Linked DNA regions of Homo sapiens: region 1 is linked to region 2. The links are contacts of gene promoters, found by promoter capture Hi-C in blood cells and fetal thymus (Javierre and others, 2016). All regions are on one chromosome and are shown on one strand. Each heading gives the region's core, a stretch centred on a gene start or on the middle of the fragment in contact. The rest is flanking DNA. Distances are from core to core; before and after follow the strand shown.

Region 1 (2,876 bases), core at 206-2,705, 230 kb after region 2:
CCTTGGTTTGCAATATAAACCATATCTCAATAGCATGGTAGCACGGATCCTAGATTCTGAAGCAGGCTGCCTGGATCTGTTCAAATTGTGGCTCCATCTGAACTTCCTCACTTGTTAAAAGTGAGAATAATTATAGTACCAACCTCAGAGGGTATCTTATATGCACAGCACTTCTACAGAGTAGCCTTCAATGTTAGCTATGGTAATTGTTGTTGAAATTAGAAAATATTTCATAATAAATTCCTCAGCTGTTTCTTACCTTAGTTCTAATTTATGATACAAAGAGAAAAACCTAGATGAGAACATTATCCAGTAATTTCAGGTATCCCAGTAACTTGGAAATGATAAGCTACATGAACATTCAACTAGAGAGAAAAAAGCCAAGGCTAACCCTGTGCGGAGTTTACCTGTACTCCAAGACAAATTTACCATCAGTTACCTGAACAATAGCTGGGTCTTGAGGCAAAGAACACTGTGGTTTTGGTGGCTCACAAACAGTAAGGTCTTTAATGTCACTCCCACGGAATATAATGTATTCAAAGACTTCATCTCGAGGTGGTATTGGACGATCTGTCGGTCTGTCTTCTGTACCAAAGGATCGAACTGGCAAGAAAACAAAGGATATGAGATGTGTGACTACTCATCACATTCAGGTAGTACCCCAGATTCTAAATGTTGTATTTCAAGTACTAAGCAGTAGTTCTGAAATGTCTGAGAAAGTATTCATTAATCTATAGCTAAAAAAGTTTTTTTAAAGAGGAAAATAGAGTGGCTTTTGCCCGAAGTTAAATATATGCAATATAAAAGACTATCTGTATTATGAGGTTGTGTTCCTCTTATATTTTTATTTATTTGTATCTTTAGTGGTTGTAGTGGGGTGTTAAAATGTCCTTTCATTATTTATTTATTGATGAGACTGGGTCTCTGTCCCCTAGGCTGGAGTGCAGTGGTGTGGTCATGGCTTCCTGCAGCCTCAGCTTCCCGGGCTCAGGCGATCCTTCTATCTCAACCTCCCACGTAGCTGGGACCACAGGCATGTGCCACTAAGCCCAGCTAACTTTTTTTATTTTTTAGTAGAGATGAGGTCTTGCTATTTTGCACAGGCTGGTCTTGAACTCCTGGCCTCAAGTGATCTTCCTGCTTTAGCCTCTCAATGTGCTGGGATGAAAGGCCTAAGCCACTGTGCCTGGCTCACGGTTAACTTATTTTTAATGTCCTCATTCGACAAAATAAAAATTAGCAACCCATGTCTTTCTTGGGGAAGGAGTGGGAGACAAAGATTCCTCCAGTCTACAAAATCTCAAAGTTTGGGTATTGACCTTTGGGACACAGAGAGCAATGAAGGTATTAATAACATTTACCTTGCTGAGCAGTAAGTCCTCTAGAAGCCAAGTCAAGCAGCTGCCAGCTACTCAGCCCCATGGGACAGCTTGAAATACCCTAGTTACCTAAAATATCTACCATATAATTAAATCTGATTATTTTAACAATGAAGACAGCATTACTCAAAGTTAAACTGGGGACCACCTGCAACACAGTAAACTGGCTACGAATAAAGATTTCTACCGAATCTTTTTGCTGGGGACAGGGTCCAAAAATCTGCATTTTAAGCCAATTTCTGGCTAGGCACAGTGGCTCATGCCTGTAATCCCAGCACTATGGGAGGCCAAGGTGGGAGGACTGCTTGAGCCCAGGAGTTTGAGACCAGCCCTAGCAACACAGTGATGTTCTGTCTCTACAAAAAAATAAACATTTTTAAAAATTAGCCAGGTGTGGTAGTGCATGCCTGTAGTCCCAGCTATAAGGAGGCTGAGGTATGAGGATCGCTTGAGCCTGGGAGATTGAGGCTGTACTGAAGCGTGGCTGCACTGCAGCCTGGGTGACACAGCAAGACCCTATTTCAAAATAAGTAAATAAAATAACCAAATCCCCAAGTTTCTTATAAATACATAAGTTTCAGGTTCATTGTCCTGGGAGATTTCTGAAAATGTCTGCATCCATACAGAAGTTCCAAATAGAGAATATGAAACATCATATTTCATTTAAAGAGTACCCTAAAGGAAGTAAACCCCTTAACATTTCTATTTTTTTTCTTTTTTTTTGAGATGGAGTTTCATTCTGTTGCCCCAGCTGGAGTGCAGTGACGCAATCTTGGCTCACTGTAACCTCTGCCTCTTGGGTTCAAGCGACTCTCCTGCCTCAGCCTCCTGAGCAGCTGGGATTACAGGCGTGTGCCACCATGCGCAGCTAATTTTTGTATTTTTTTTTAGCGGAGATGGGGTTTCACTATGTTGGCCAGACTGGTCTAGAACTCCTGACCTCAAGTGATCCATCCGCTTCGGCTTCCCAAAGTGCTGGCATCACAGGCGTGAGCTACCGCGCCTGGCCCCCTTAGTATTTTTAATGCATACGCTTTTTTTTTTTTTTTTTTTTTTTTTTTTTTTTTTTGCAGAACTGATGCAGCGCCTCATGCCTGCAATCCCAGCACTTTGGGAGGCCAAGGTGGGCAGATCACTTGAGGTCAGGAGTTTGACACCGGCCTCAACAAAATGGTGAAACCCCATCTCTACTAAAAATACAAAAAATCATTAGCTGGGCATGTTGGCATGCACCTGTAGTCCTAGCTGCTCAGGTGGCTGAGGCGGGAGGATTGGCTGAACTCAAGAGGCAGAAGTTGCAGTGAGCCAAGATGGCGCTCCTGCACTCCAGCCTGGGTGACAGAATGACAATCTGACTCCAAAAAAAAAAAAAAAAAAAAAAACAACAAAAAGAATGTTATTTCAGTGTAAATAATGTCCTACACTCTTATTCTAAAAGTTCTTTCTAGTACTTATGAGACTTCCAGGAAAGACAGTGGCACAGGTAGTTTGGCAGAA
Region 2 (2,700 bases), core at 27-2,526:
TATGTTGCCCAGGTTCTGTTCTTTTTCTTAAATGATACATGGCAAACGTTTATTGAATTTTTGCTGCCTCCCTTAATTCAAGCCTTCATCCATACACAATTTCATTTACTATTAACCTGAGAACTGTGAAAGGAAACTTTTACACATGGTTAAAAAAGTATCATGTTTTAAGTTTTATCTAATTTTTGCTTAAATATATAATACATAAAGGAAAGAAACAATGACTCAGTCGGCCACCCGTACTTTTTTGTTCATTCCATGTTTCCACTAGCCCTTAAGACACTTTAAACTCACACCGAAGGGCCAGTAACATCTCCAATCTCTAAAAAGTTTGCATTAGTAGAAATAACGATTCAAAATAGCACTGGCTTGTCAACGTACACCAATGCAAAAGGCACAGTCCTAACGTCTTTAATGAAACAAGCGAGTGTACCGTCTACTGTGAGAGCAATGACAGTCACGCAGCCTGCGGGAGCCCTGCCACTCGCTCCGTGACCCAGGGTAAGTTACTCAACCCCATTGCGTCTCCCTTTCCTCATCTGTTAAAAATAAAGCAGGGTGGAAATAGCGTTTGCACTCCTCGGGTGGTATGAAGATGGTGCGCGTTCCGTGTGTAAACCCGCTCGTGACCAGCGCTCGGGACGCGTTGGTCGCTATCATTGCCATCCTCCGCCCCGCGTCGTTACTTCGGAGTTACGACAGGGACCTCAAAATTAAAGTCACAACATCCGCGAGGGACTCAATCCTCTCCCGCATCTCCTAACAGCCGGGAATTTGTTTTGAAGGGAGGATAAGAGGCGGCTTCACGCCCACGAAGCGCCACACATTGGCGCTGCCGGGGAGGCGGGGGCCCGCGGCCTCCTCGGCGTCCGGAGCCGGCCCAGCGAGCGGAGGCCCGCCCCGTGCCCAAAGAACAGTCTCCTCCCGCGGGGGGGGCACAACCCGAGCCTCTCAGCCTGCCCCCGCTCCGCAACTCCGGTCCCGGGCTCCGGGCCCTGAGCCTCAGAGCCCCTGGAGCCCCGGAACCCCCGAATCCCAGCCCCCGCACCACAGCCCGCCATTCACGCGCGCGCGCCCGGCCCTCACCAGGTCGATGTGGGAGAAACCGGTGAGCACGAGATTCTTGAGGAGCTCGCAGCCGATGCCGCCCGCCCCCACCACCAGCACCCGGCCCCCGGCCACCGCCTCAGCCAGCTCCCGGGGCAGCCCCCGCGACAGTGCCATGGCGGGACAACCACGAGCCGCGGCGGAGGCGGAGGCGGGAGAACCGAGCCGCGGCCGGAAGCGGGTGGGGGAAGGGCGGCCTGGTTTCCGCTCCTGCGCACTACAGCCTCCGGCAGACACAGGCAGGGCACATCGCGCCGGGGTGTGCTGCAGCCCGCGGGGACCGGCAGGCTCTTGCAAAGGGCTGGCGACCTCCAGCTGAGACCGGCGGTGTTATTCCCACACCAGCATAGGCCCGCCATCAGACCTAAAAAGTCTAAGGGTCGCCTTCTAGCCTGGGGTTTCAACTCCCAGCCAAGACTTCCTTACAGGTTAGAAAACTGATGTCCCTATACGTAAAGAGCTCTTACAAATTAACAAGTGTCACCCCCAAAAAAATATAGGCAAAGGATGTGAACAGGAAACTCACAAAAAATTGGACAATATGATCAATAAGCGTATTAAAATGTAAACCATAAAAGAATCGCTTGAACCCTGGAGGTGGAGGTTGCAGTGAACCAAGATCGCACCACTTCACTCCAGGCTGGGTAACAGAGCAAGACTCCGTCTCAAAAAAGAAAAAAATGTAAACCATGCAAAATGGTAAGATTTTCACCTGCCGGGCGCGGTGGCTTACGCCTGTAATCCCAGCACTTTGGGAGGCCGAGGCGGGTGGATCACGAGGTCAGGAGTTCTGAAACCAGCCTGACTAACATGGTGAAACCCCCATCTCTACTAAAAATACAAAAATTAGCCGGGCGTGGTGGCGTGCGCCTGTAATCCCAGCTACTCGGGAGGCTGAGGCAGGAGAATCGTTTGAACCCAGGAGGCAGAGGTTGCAGTGAGCCGAGATCGCGCCACTGCACTCCAGCCTGGGCAACAGACTCCGTCTCAAAAAAACAAACAAACAAACAAACAAAAAAAAACACCGAAACAGCTGGGGGTGGTGGCACAAGCCTGTAGCCCCAGCTACTCAGGAGGCTGAGGCAGGAGAATTGCTTGAACCCAGGAGGCGGAGGTTGCACCACTGCACTCCAGCCTGAGCAATACAGCGAGACTCTGTCTCAAAAAAAAAAAAAAGTTTTTCACCTACTAAACTGGTAGAAAGAAAAAATAAGTAACACTTATCAAGGGATTGGGAAACAAGCACTCCAACACACTCCAGGTAAAGATTCCAAAGCAAAGCTTCTCTAGAGGGCGTGGTGGCTTGCACCTGTAGTCCCAGCTACTCAGGAGGCTGAGGCAGGAGGATCACTTAAGCCTGAGAGGTCGAGGCTGCAGTGAGCTATGCCCTTACCACTGCACTCCAGCCTGAGAGACAGAGCAAGACCCTGTCTCGAAAAAAAAGAAAAAAAAACCCTAAAATTGTGCACAACTTTTGACTCATTCATTCCAATTCTAGGAAACTGTCCTGTAGCAGTTATCATTGATTTAAAATATATATAAATTTAGTTACAGGGATGGCCATCATGGGAATAAAAATTGGAAAATACAAGT

The links. Contacts are between HindIII fragments. The CHiCAGO score rates a contact against its expected background, and 5 or more counts as called.
Region 1: a fragment that was not itself captured here is called in contact with the fragment with the promoter of UBA2 in region 2 in 1 of 17 cell types (naive CD4 T cells); the score reaches 5.1 in naive CD4 T cells.

The regions. Positions count from the first base shown.
Region 1 is chr19:34,192,205-34,195,080 of GRCh38, reverse strand. LSM14A (LSM14A mRNA processing body assembly factor) reads right to left here. Exons shown (of 10, transcript NM_015578.4): 2 at 440-603. Among named protein-coding and RNA genes, the nearest start is that of LSM14A, 21 kb to the right of the region's middle. The HindIII fragment of the contact is 3,862 bases long and covers 1-2,876 here.
Region 2 is chr19:34,426,957-34,429,656 of GRCh38, reverse strand. It overlaps UBA2 (ubiquitin like modifier activating enzyme 2), which reads right to left and starts at 1,276. Exons shown (of 17, transcript NM_005499.3): 1 at 1,087-1,276. The coding sequence starts at 1,224. LOC124904695 (a long non-coding RNA gene) reads left to right here and starts at 1,293. Exons shown (of 2, transcript XR_007067232.1): 1 at 1,293-1,535. RefSeq lists silencers at 779-938, 1,009-1,118, 1,149-1,388. The HindIII fragment of the contact is 4,339 bases long and covers 1-2,390 here.